2 separate regions of the Homo sapiens genome follow, and region 2 is linked to region 1. Evidence: promoter capture Hi-C in human tissues and cell types (Jung and others, 2019). All regions are on one chromosome and are shown on one strand. The core of a region is centred on a gene start or on the middle of the fragment in contact, and the rest is flanking DNA. Distances in the headings are between cores, read along the strand shown.

Region 1 (6,548 bases), core at 3,225-5,724:
ACCACGTAGCAGTGATTAAAGATAGCAGCAAGTAAGCAATTAGCCTTGAAGTAATTATTCTAATTAGTCCAATCAGAGTCTGTTTTAATCTGCCCCATGCAGCCAACAGGGAATAGGAGAATGAATGACAGATAAAGTGATATGAAGATAAAAAATATTTCCCTAAAGTACAGCCTTAAGAGGGGATCCACCCAGGCCTAACATGGGAAGGTTACAAAAAACAACTGACGACTAGGTTTGGAAAGGAGTTTGAAGCACTTCCAGAAGATTCTGTGAGGCCTTGTTCTAAATGCCCAGGTTTAGACACTGCTGAGTCAATGTTTGTGACGCACCAACATCCATGCTGATCACTATTAAATATAAAATTGTATTCTTGCCATGCGGTCTTAGAGGGGTACAGATACCATTGCCACCAACACCAACTGAAGTCTAAGATGCCTACTACTAGAATCCCTCCCCATCTGCACCGCACCACTGTTTTCACCAGCCCCTCCCTTCCAATCTGCAGCTTTACTGCTCATCACCTCTGGGCTAGGATCTGTACCAGGAAAAGAGAAAGCACCACTTCTTACCAGTTTATATGCAGGATTTGACGACGGGCACTACTAATAGGCAGGTGTTCACCCACCTGCATACCAAGGTAAGCTAAGTATGCAGGTGCAAGAAGATTTAATTAGTGGAAGGGTCCAGACCCTAGAGCAGTGACTCTCAACTAAGGATTCTGCACTTCCCCTGCCTCGGCATTTGGCAGTGTCTGGACACTTTCTGGTTGTCATAAAAAACACTATTGGCACCTAGCAGATAGAAGCCAGGAATGCTGCTGAACAGTCTACAATGCACGAACAGCCTCAACAATGAAGCATTATCAAGCCCTGAATAACAATAGCACTGTTGAGAAGCCCTGATCTAGAGTTCACCAGAGCACCCTCAACCACAGTCTCTACTAATGAACTCCATCTGCCTCCCATCAACATCCACCCCCTCTTACCTATGGCTACTCCTGCTACTGCAGCCAAAGACACTGCTGTTGTGTATTTCTCCACCTTTCTCTGCTTGGCTCATTCCTAGTCACTTTTCACATTCCAGTTCATTTCCTCCCCTAAACTTCCAACACTCCAAAGTGGAAAAGATGTCCCCCTTCAGTGTGCTTCTGCAGTTACCTTCCTGGGCTATAACTTATCCTCCTGTCTGAGGCCTCCATGGGGCTTGAACTACACGAAGGGAAACTGTCATGTTTCAGGCTCCACCAAATCCCTAGTTCCTTCCCCAGTGAGAGAGCAGGGGATCACTGAGTGGTTGTATATGAAAGCAAGCACCCATTTAAGTACCTACCCTGTGCCAGGCCCTATCTTAGACAACAAATCACCACATTTAATTCTAATAGGCTTTGGAAGTTGGCATCATCCCCACTTACAGATGGGAAAGCCAGCTCAGAGAACGCCTACAAGATCCCAAAGCAAATGAGAGAAAAGCTGGATTCAAAGCCTGGGGCAGCACTTTTCAGGACATGGCTGAGCCTCCCACACTAACACCACAGCCAAGTCTGAATCCAGAAAGGGTTGACAGGGACTGGGAAAGCTTTAGGACTTTACTATTCTGAGGAAAAGATGAAGAGAATTTTCCTGATGATGCAATCCTGTTGCTGATCACTAACAGACCTGCATACTAAGAACTCGAAACTTCTGTTCTTAAAATACAGGGTGGGCATGTGTTAAGGAGAGTAGTAGTCCCAAAACCAAAAAAAAATGCCTTGTGATCCCCTCATTAAGCACCAGACCACTACTAGACCTCCTGACAACCACCCTGAGGGCCAATGACTACGCAGAAAATTAATATCCCGCTAAGAGACCAAATGGTCCTTGTGTGAGGTAATTTTTGCACTGAGAACCCGTCAATGGGGTCAGACCCCAACCTGCCTTACACAGCAAGCACCCGGAGAGGGTGTGTCCTGGAAATCCCATCTTAAAGCATTTTGCCAAGACATCCATCTAGGAGCGCCATGAAGATCTGAGAAGCTCAGAAGCCCATTATAAGAAGGCATCTGACAGCTAGGCTGTCCTCTAAGTTTCAGATGCCTAAAGAGCTAAAGTATCGCTTCTGCTACTACTGACTTCCCACCTTCCCACCAGGACGTCTTGGACATTACAAGGCTCTGCTGCCATCCCCAACATGGAAGCAGCCTCAGCTGTTAGACTCAAATGAAACAGATGACCTAATCTCATATCAAGAAGGCTCCAGGGACCCTGCTTCTCCTCATGACTTTGGCCCTACTGACTCACTTCAGAACCTGGGCTGCTCACGACAAAAGCCCAGTGTGTCCTCAACCTTGTATTTGGTGGTGGTCAACCAAGCTGCTCTGAGAACAGCTGCGGTCTAAACCTAAGATGTTTTGGGTATTACTGAATTACATTACTAGGTTTACCTTTTTCAGGACTGGAAGGAGGCCGCTTCCAAATAAATTTTCACTTCACATAAACAGCAAAGGTGTTCCCAATGGCAATCTCCTCTGGGGGCCAGGGCACTGAGCTAATTCTCAGCAGGATCTGGGAACCGAATATAGGCCAAAAGCCTAAGTTCTGCTGCTCACGCAACTGTAAGGCCAAACAGTCAAGAGACCAGCTGTATTCTGTTGTATTCAGTCCTGACTACAAGTAACACGTTCTTACAAAGAACTGATGGGCTCTTCTGCAGCCAGGAGGGAAGAATTTTAAGAGTGTGCTGCTCTGTATGCCTGGCCCAACCACTAATCTGTTCAACTCCAGGGAAGTCACTCCCCCTCCTGGGAATGGAGAATGTGCTTCAATTAAATAATCTCTGGGGCCTTTGCCTGTGACTACTTTCTCTGTTAAGGAATCCAAAAATGGCAGAACAAGAAAGACTTTTAGATAAATTAAAAAAAAAAAAAATTTTAAAGCATAGATTTGTAAATGGAAGGCCAGAATGGAAAACCGGAAAATCACAAAGGGACTTATGCTAAGAAATGGATGGTGGGAAAAAAAAAAATCAAAGGGAACAGCCTTCTGAAAAGATGGCTTTCGATGAATTCTCAGCCAAGTCAGTGATCCCGTCAAACCTGCCTTCGGGGACAGGATTTCCACATCGGTTCCCTATTTTCTTGCTATAGGTATCTTAAACACAAAACCCTTCTCTCGCTCCCTACAATCTACAAACAGAAGAACTGGTCAGAACTGTAAAAAACGCAGACTCCTACGGGCTGCTGCTTTCTGGGCCAGGGTGGGTAGCTAAGGCAGCAGGCGCAGGGCCGCCCCCTCCACCCGGGTGGGTTACCTGAGCACAGTCACGCTTCCCCTGCGCACCGGCAGGGAAAGCACTGGTTCCGACACCCGAATAGGCTTGAACTGGAACTTGCAGCCGAAGCACAGCGCAGAGTCGCTAAAGAAGGACACGGACACGATGGGGCGCTCGAAGATGTGGATGGGGTCCACGTGAGACACGATGCAGCCGCCGGGCTGGTAGTCGTTGATGACGGCGCTGTTGACGAAGCCCTCGGGGATGACGCGGTGCTCCACCAGCTTTTGGATCACCAGCTGGTGCACCCACTCGGGGATCTCGTCCACGTCGCCCGGCGGGTAGAGGCGCTCCTGGCCGGGCCCGCGCTTCTGCAGCTGGGCGCCGTAAGTGTAGCCTTCGCCGAAGAAGTACTTGTTGCGCAGTGGGGCCCGGTCCACCGTGTGCTCGTTGTACAGGCCCTTCTCAGCGCGGGACACCACCTCGTCAATGCGGGCCTCGATCTTGGCGCACTCGTCCTGGCTGAAGAGGCGCATCTGGCGGATGCCGCTCTTCACCTTGCGCGCCTCCTCCTCCTTCTGCAGCTGCTGCTCCTCATAGTCGCTGCGCTCGGGGTCCGAGTCCTCCTGATACTTGCGCTTGGCCCCGGACACAGGGTAAGGTTCGGCGGCAGCGGCGGCTGCGGCTGCGGCGGCTACGGCGGCTGCGGCAGCGGCGGCGGCCTCCCGGCTGCCCGCCTTATAGTTGTCCCGGGACGTCATGGACTTGAGCTTCTCACGCAGGTCCGTGTAGCCGCTGGCGGCCGCCATGGCCCCCACGACGCTGCTCTAGGGTCCTCCGGGGCGGGCGGGGCAGCCGGGCATGGCTCTAAGGGGACGCGCCCCGGGGCCCCCGGAGGGAGGGGGGTCCTTAGCGCCGAACCCCCATGCGTGAGTGGGGGACCCGGCGGGGGGCGTCGAGGGTCCGGGCGTGGGGTAGGGCCTCAGGAGCGGCGGGTCATGCAACGGTGGCGACAACGGGGCTTCTTCCTCCTCCACCTTCTCCACGTCCCGCGGGGCAGGGGCGCCGGCAGCGCCTCATGCCGCGGAGGGCTGCTGCGGAGACGCGGCCCGACTCCCGACCAGACCCTCGGACGCCCGGCCCGGCCCGCACTTTAAAGCTCTCCGCACGACGTCACGGGCAGCCAGCCCGACGTCCGCCAGCGCCGCTCCTTAGCGGGCTCCTCACCGCGCACGCGCAGTGCTGCCGGCCACCGCGGCTCCGCGCGCTACGGGCATGCGCGTGCGTGCAGGCCGGGTCGGCAGAGGCGCCGGCGCAAGCGCAGACAGGAACCGCTTGCCGTCCGCCGCCCCTCCCCCACTCTCTGAGGGGCTTCAAGGGAACGCTCTCAAATAGCAACCTGTCTTCACGCCGCGCCGCCTCCAGGACCGAAGGGCTCCCTCTACAGGGGTGCGCTCATATTGCCAACAGTGTCGCCGTGCCGCGTCACGGCATCGTCCGAACGCCCGCAGACGCCTCAACCCCAGGGCGCATTCACCAGGGAACCGCCACAACGTAGGCCGCTCCGTTACCTCCCCCTTTGGCGCTTCCACTTCTTTAATTGGGCCGTGGGCCACGCGCCGGGCAGGCCCTGACTGGAGTTTCCGGAAGTCGGTTGGTAATCATGCGTGTCAATCAGGCAGTCTCCTTAGCTACTGTGTCCGTCACTTAATTAGCGGCTGGGCGAGCAGCGAGGACCCCTAAAGGAGAAATGGGTGGTTAAATAAGTGCCTGAATGGAGACTCCACCTGAGTAAAGCCCTTAGAACGCCTAAGGAAACTTCTGAAACCCGCGAAAACTTCTCAGACTGCGGGACCTGCAGCACCCGGCCCCAGTTCTGAACCCAGATAGGAACGTCCGGCAGAAGCCAGACGCGCGTTGTCGGGGTACAAGCCAGCCTGCCGCCGCTGCCGCCGCCGCCCGGAGCGGACGTTTCACGAGTCACGTCCCGGTGACGGCGAGCGTGGGGGCGCGCTGGGGTTGGCGTCGAGCCTCCTTGGTGCTGGAGATGGGCGTGGGGGCACCTCCTACGGGGACTCTGGAAGAAAACTCCAGGAAACGAACGGGCGCAAGGCTAAGGCTAAGCTATAGATAATGACTACAGTCAATTCAAAAAAGTTTTGAAGCAGTCAGCAAAGGCGTTGCCGGGCGCGGGGCCTCACGCCTGTAATCCCAGCACTTTGCGAGGCCAAGGCGGGCGGATCACTTGAGCCCAGGAGTTTGAGACCAGCCTGGCCAACATGGCAACCCCATCTCTACAATAAAATTTTTAAAAATGAACTGGGCGTGGTGGCGCGCGCCTATGGTCCTAGCTACTCAGGAGGCTGAGGTGGGAGGATCCCTTGAGCCCAGGGGATTGAGGCTGCAGAGAGCCGAGCTGGCGCCACTGCACTCCGGCCTGGGCGACAGAGCTGCAAAACAAAACAAAAAGGCGTAGCCGTGCAGGATGCACTGGAGGGCTCCAACAAATGGGGGTCGGGGGGGATCTGCTGGAAAATCTCCCATGTCTCCCAGGATAAAGTTCCCCTGCTTTATTTGGCACTCAAAGCTTTTCTTCAAGACTCTTCTGGCCTTGGCTCCTCCTCTCCTCTCTTTCCATGTACACTGAGCCCCAGCCTGGTCCTCATCCTGTAAGCCAGGTCTACAAACATACTGTGTCTCACCTCCTGGCCTTTGCCCAGGCTGTTTGCCATGGCTGTTGCCCATGCCAGTTCCTTATCACCCGTCTCCCTCTCTCTCTCCCCCTTCCCCTCCTCCTCCTCGTTCTTTTTTGACAGAGTCTCTGTTGCCCAGGCTGAAGTGCAGTGGCACGATCTTGGCTGACTGCAATCTCGACCTCCCGGGTTCAAGACATCCTCCCACACCTCAGCCTCCTGAGTAGCTGGAACTATGTAGAGGCGTGTACCACCACACCCCGCTAATTTTTCTGTTTTTAGCAGAGATGGGGTTTCACCATGTTGTCAAATTGGTCTTGGAACTACTGGGCACAAGATCCTCCTGCCTCGGCCTCCCAAAGTGCTGGGATTACAGGCGTAAGCCACTGCGCCCAGCCTGGAATGGACATTTTTTTAAAAAGCTTATCAAGTTTTTACTATGTGCCAGGACCTGTGCATATACTAGCCCAATTAATCGTCCAAACAATTCAATGAGGAGGGCATTATTATTATTACCATTGTATATATAGGGAAACAGGCCCAGAGAGGTGAAATGACTTGCCCAAGGCCATACAGCGAGTATGTGGCCTAGTGATGATTCAAACC
Region 2 (6,506 bases), core at 118-2,617, 670 kb before region 1:
AACATGGTGAAACCCCCATCTCTACTAAAAATACAAAAAAAAAAAATTAGCCAGGCGTGGTGGTGCGCGCCTGTAATCCCAGCTACTCAGGAGGCTGAGGCAGGAGAATCGCTTGAACCCGGGAGGCAGAGGTTGCAGTGAGCCGAGATCGCGCCACTGCTCTCCAGCCTGGGTGACAGAGCAAGAGTCCATCTCAAAAACAAAACAAAACAAAACAAAACTGTGCTAAAAGCACAGTTCTGGGTGTATAATAAATGATCAGTTTTTTGTTCGTTTGTTAGTTTTTTGTTTTGAGACGGAGTTTCGCTCTGTTGTCCAGGCTAGAGTGCATCGGCGCGATCTCAGCTCACTGCAAACTTCGTCTCCCGGGTTCAAGCGATTCTCCTGTCTCAGCCTCCCGAGTAGCTGGGATTACAGGTGTGCGCCACCACGCCCGACTAATTTTTTGTATTTTTAGTAGAGACAGGGTTTCACCATGTTGGCCAGGCTGTTCTCAAACTCCTGACCTCAAGTGATCCGCCCGCCTCCGCCTCCTAAAGTCCTGGGGTTACAGGCGTGAGCCATCGCGCCCAGCCATTATCAGTTATTATCGTTATTTGCCTTGTCGCCTTTTTTTCTTTTATTATAAAGGAATTAGTACTTTTGGTATCCATTGCCTAAGTTCTTTATAACTTAGGTAATGTTTACTCTTTATTGTATGTATAACATAATAATAGCAAACACATGGTCCTCTTTTAAGTGCTTTACATATATTAACGGTAACTTATTTAATCCTCACAAGAGCATAAGGTAGGTGTTGTTATCCTCTCCATTTTAATAGTTGTGGGAACTGAGACGACGACGTTAAATAACTTTTCCAATGACAAAGCAGTGGACAGAATTTCGACCCAGGAGGCTTTGCACCAGTCTTCACTTACCTAATCCCTATACCACATCTTCTCTCCAATTCTGCTTTGGATTTTTCACAATAATGAGGCATGAAATATTCATCAGAGGTTGCAGAGCTAGCTAGAGTCTTTATGGTTCAACGTCTTATTTTAGAAACGAAGAATACAAGCATCTCAACTAACGAATTGTAAATTAGGTGAGACTTCGTGAAATGGAGTCGTTTGAAACATTTCCTTTGCCTGACAACTTTACAGGGACATACCTCTTTGTAAAGAGCAAGACCCATGAGCCCAGTGATTATCTGCATACCAAAATTGATTCCTCTTCAGCGGTACCTCGGCTGGGCTCACGTCCCTTCTGCGCTGGCATCTAACTCCGGTCACAACCCCCACCTCTCTGCTGTGGCTGGCGTAGATTCCACGCGTCACATGTTGGCATGTGACTGGATCTGGCCAGTCAGAGAAGTTCATCCCTCTCCGCTCGCTGATTCGCTCCAAAGATAGGCTACTGAGCCAATCGGAGCCCACGAAACACCGTCTCCATCCCTGCGCCGGGACTGGAGAGGCTTACTCTCTCCTGCTGATGCTGCAGCTGCTGGGATGCCAGGAGGGGAACCGCCTGAGGAAAGTGCTGAGAGAAAAGAGAGGGAGGGATACAGACCGGGCCCAGATGAGTTTGCGCTGAATCTGAAGTCGGTAGGTCCCTGGACATTTCTATTATGGAAGCCAAGAAGAACCTCCCCTCCACCCTCTGAAGCCAGTGTGGATCGGGTTTCTGGCACTTGCAGTGTCTGCACGGTCTCCTCTCCTTCCTTCTCCATTGCCCTTTCTCACCCGCCTGGGCCCGCCACCCTGAACTACCGGGACACATGCTGTTCCTGCCTCCAGGCGTGCACTTCTTCCTGCAGCCTCCTCCCCTACTAACTCCTTCTTGAACTTGATAGCTCCATTGTCACTTTCGAGTCTTCCCTAAACCACTCCCTTCCCAAATAAAACTGTTTCATGTATTTTTCTTTCATTGGGCTTATCACGATTTCTAATTAAGTGTTTGGGTGGTTATTTGACAAATATCACCACCTCAGCCCCTGTACACTGTAAGCCCCATGAGGGTGGGCTCTTCGTCCCTCCTGCTGATCACTGTTTCCCAGGGCCTGGCACAAGTATGGTACTCAAGAAATGTCTGGAAAATTGAGTGCCTTATCCTTTCTGGAAAGAAAATGGGCAGTAGCGCAGCATTATATAGTGTTTGCACCATACAAGAATAATATTACTGGAAAAAAAAAAACTTTTCTAAGAGACAGAGTCTTGCTCTGTTGCCCAGGCTGGAGTGCAGTGGTGCAATCATAGCTCACTGCCGCCTCGAACTGGGCTCAAGTGATCCTCCCGCCTCGACCTCCAAAACGCTGGGATTGCAGTCATGAGCCACCACACCTGGCCTTGAATTTTTTAAAAAATCCACTCTCATTAACCAGAATGAGCTAGCTCCAGTGTATCACCGCGTCCAGGGTTCTGCAGTGGGGTGGCTTGCTCCTCAATAGTTTCCCGCACTGCAGGCACTTAGTTTGTAGTTTCATTTGTTCTGTTATAGCAATACCACTCTTCCATCCGCCATCCATTCTCCAAGGACTATTGAAATCCCTTGTAGGCTGATGTCAAAACTCTCATTCTCTTTATCCTTGGGGTTTAGGCCATAGGAGTGTGCCATGGTAGGTGTTCAGCCAAGCTGACCCACCAGGTGACTGCAGCCCCAGCCACCACCTGACTGCAACTTTATGAAAGACCCTAAGCAAGAGCCACCTAGCTAAGACCAATCAAACCACAAAAAATTGAGAGCTAAGAAATTTTTTATTAAAGCCCAAGTCTGGGCATATTTTGTTATACAATGGGTAATGAGCAAGAAAGGAGCAAAAGCATAATGTAAAGCTTGTGGTCAGTTCCACACGAATGCAGTTTTTGGTTAGTCCATTGCTAAACTTGATAATCCCTTGCCCACTTGGATGTTTGCAGTCAGAGTCTTTGCATGTAATAGAAGTGCTCAGCTTGCTGCAACACGTCATTGGCCATATTCAAGGGCTAAACTGCTGTATATCGACTATAAATCAAGATACTCAAGTCTAAGACATTTCCCTTCAACATTTTTTAAAGGAAGGAAAGGAATCTTTGCTATAGTTTGATAGAAATTTTTGAGCAGTATGGTGTAACAAAAAACACAGGATTCTCCTTCAAATGGTTGTGCAAATGAAAAAACAGGGACTTAGGTGTCCATCACTAGGATGGAGCCTGCTTCCTGCCTCCTGTCCTCATTGTGGAAATGACCCTGGACAGATCCACCTCTCTAAGTTTCTGTTTCCTCAGTGGAAAAATGAGCACTAATATTAGCAGCCATATGATGGTTGGGGGTGAGGAGTTACTTTTAGATGGAGTCCATGAGTATGAGGCACCGAGGAAGCTTTTGCAGCTGCCTCTCTGCTCTCGCCTGTCTGGCTATCAGGGAAGAAAAACAAGGCACCCCTTTTTCCCCAGTGGAAGAGGATGGCAGCTTGCCTGGCTGTAGGAGGCAGCGGAGGCCAAAGCCAGGTCACCAGCCAAGGAGGCCTTGGAAGTTCCTATAGAGTCCTTTCCTGCATCCTCCAGCTTTTTTCCTTTTTCTTTTCTTTTTTCTTTTTTTGAGATGGAGCCTTGCTCTGTTGTCCAGACTGGAGTACAGTGGCGCAATCTTGACTCACTGCAACCTCCACCCTCCCGGGTTCAAGCTATTCTCCTGCCTCAGCCTCCCAAGTAGCTAGGACTACAGGTGCATGCCACCACACCCGGCTAATTTTTGTAATTTTACTAGAGATGGAGTTTTGCCATGTTGGCCAGGCTGGTCTCGAACTCCTGACCTCAAGTGATCCACCCATCTCGGCCTCCCAGAGTGCTGGGAATACAGGCATGAGCCACTGTGCCCGTCCTCTTTTCTCCTTTTTCTATTTTCCCCCAAAATGAAAGGAACTTCATTGTCTTTTTTTTTTTTCCCGAGGCTGAGTCTCACTCTGTCATCCAGGCTTGAGTGCCGTGGCGCGATCTTGGATCACTGCAACCTCTGCCTCCTGGGTTCAAGCGGTTCTCCTGCCTCAGCTCCCCAGCAGCTGGGACTAAGAACTTCATTGTCTTTTGTAAGCATAATAATATTTACACATTGTAAGAAAAATTCAAATGAGAAAGAAGAAAAAATTAAAAAGATATTTGCCATTATCCCATGTGGAGAGGTAGCCACTCTTGGAATTTTCCAATATGCCTTTTCCCTGTAACAATTTATTGCAGGCATGATTCCATGTTGATGAATTCAGGTCGACATCATCATGATATGAGCTGTGAATGAAAGACTGTAGTCTTGGGAACCAGCGCCTAGATCCAAATTCCTTCTCTCCTCACCAGCTGTGTGACCTCAACAAGTTTCTTAACCTCTCTATACCTGTTTCCTCATCTACAAAATAGGAATAATAACAGCATCTATGTCATAGGGGAATCTTGATGACCACTTGAGTTATCTGGCACACAGTTGACTACCACTTTCTATTAACCGCAGCGATTATGAGCTATTGTGATATGGATGAACCATTATTTTCTCTTAACTAATCCCTCATTCTGGGCACTTTTTACTATTAATACATAACCTGTCTTTCTACCTTTGCCCAAGTATTTCCTCACGTTAAATTTCTAGAGGTAAGCTTGTTTGGTCAAAGGATATGCCCTTTTAAAATTTTGTTCCCTGAAATTTTGTACCAATTTACAGTCTCACCAGGAAGGTGGAAGAGCATCCATGTCTCTTCATCTTCACCAACACCAGGCACCATCCATTATTTTTAGCTTGTCCAAGTGAATAGTCAATGTTTTCTGGGCTTTTAAAATTACTTGTCCACGGGCCAGGTGTGGTGGCTCACACCTGTAATCCCAGCACTTTGGGAGGCCGAGGCAGGCAGATCACCTGGGGTCAGGAGTTCAAGACCAGCCTGGCTGACATGGGGAAACCCCATCTCTACTAAAAATACAAGAAAATTAGCCAGGCGTTGTGGCAGGCACCTGTAATCCCAGCTACTGAGGAGGCTGAGGCAGGAGAATCGCTTGAACCCAAGAGGCAGAGGTTGCAGTGAGCCAAGATCACACCATTGCACTCCAGCCTGGGCGACAAAAGTGAAACTCTTTCAGAGATTCAAAATAAATAAATAAATTAAAAATAAAATAAAATTACTTGTCCAAATCAGGCTGCCTGTAGCTACCCTGGCTGCCTTGCTAGCTGACTTTTACCTCCATTCATTTACTCAACAAATATCAATAAAGTACTTAACTCATGCCAGGCCCAGTGCTGAGGGTTGGGGCTACAGCTGGGAATGGCAAAGCACCCACCTCATACAGTGACCATAGTAGATGATCCACTGCATGCTAAGAGTTTAACAAAGTCCTGCTTTAGTATCCAATAAGCTATACTAGGTAGGTTAAATATTTATAATATATATGCTCTCTGGATATATAAGGAGTTTTGGGCCGGGCACGGTGGCTCATGCCTGTAATCCCAGCAGTTTGGGAGGCCGAGGAGGGTGGATCACCTCAGGTCAGGAGTTCGAGACCAGCCTGACCAACATGGAGAAACCTCGTCTCTACTAAAAATACAGAATTAGCCGGTCGTGGTGGCACATGCCTGTAATCCCAGCTACTCAGGAGGCTGAGGCAGGAGAATTGCTTGAACCCGGGAGGCGGAGGTTGTGGTGAGCCAAGATCACGCCATTGCACTCCAGCCTGGGCAACAAGAGTGAAACTTGGTCTGAAAAAGAAAAAAAAAAAAACAGAAGGAGTTTTGTAGACCCGGCACAGTGGCTTACGCCTATAATCCTAGCATTTTGGGAGGCTGAGGCAGGCAGATCACCTGAGGTCAGGAGTTCAAGACCACCCTGGCCAACATGGTGAAACCCTGTTTCTACTAAAAATACAAAAATTAGGCGGGCGTGGTGGTGCATGCCTATAATCTCAGCTACCCAGGAGGCCGAGGCAGGAGAATCACTGGAACCAGGGAGGCAGAGGCTGCAGTGAGCTAAGCTGAGATCCTGCCACTCCAGCCTGGGCAACAGAGCGAGACTCCGTCTAAAAATATATATATATATTAGCATTAGCATTACCATTTTAGCTGTACAACCTTAGAAGTCATTTCTCTCTGTTAGTTTCCTCATCTGTAAATGGGCTAATGCCACCTACTTCATGTCACTATTGAGGTGGATGGAGTAGAATAACATATTTATGGTAATGTCAATAAACCAAAGCCACAGCAAGGTTGGCACGGCCCACACACAGGCCCCCGTGGCAGCCTCCTCCTCCTGGTGGCAGCACCTAGCCAAGATCTGGGCTTTGAGCCCTTTGCCCACACCCTACTCTCAACAGCTTTCTCCTGGGCACTACTGGTGACACTGTGCTGGCTCACAGCAGCACCCCACCCACCAGGACTTTTTTTTCATTTCCATAATTGGAAAGTGCAGAATCAGGGACTGATGATCCCCCGGTAAATTACCCCCCAACTCAACTTTATCGGGTCTCTCCCTGCCAAAGACAGGCATCGCCAAGGCCTCTAGCCCGAATCATAACAAACAC

The links. Contacts are between HindIII fragments. The study calls those that stand out against the background at their distance.
Region 2: a fragment that was not itself captured here is called in contact with the fragment with the promoter of ALKBH5 in region 1 in 1 of the 25 tissues and cell types used here (spleen).

The regions. Positions count from the first base shown.
Region 1 is chr17:18,181,754-18,188,301 of GRCh38, reverse strand. It overlaps ALKBH5 (alkB homolog 5, RNA demethylase), which reads right to left and starts at 4,474. Exons shown (of 4, transcript NM_017758.4): 1 at 3,289-4,474. The coding sequence starts at 4,058. RefSeq lists silencers at 2,324-2,373, 3,597-3,748, 3,907-3,996, 4,077-4,376, 6,513-6,548 and enhancers at 3,642-4,479, 4,587-4,826, 4,887-5,086. The HindIII fragment of the contact is 6,004 bases long and covers 97-6,100 here.
Region 2 is chr17:18,851,121-18,857,626 of GRCh38, reverse strand. It overlaps a transcript of PRPSAP2 not described here. Among named protein-coding and RNA genes, the nearest start is that of PRPSAP2, 3.8 kb to the left of the region's middle. RefSeq lists enhancers at 1,497-1,556, 1,577-1,626, 1,145-1,645. The HindIII fragment of the contact is 3,412 bases long and covers 1-3,073 here.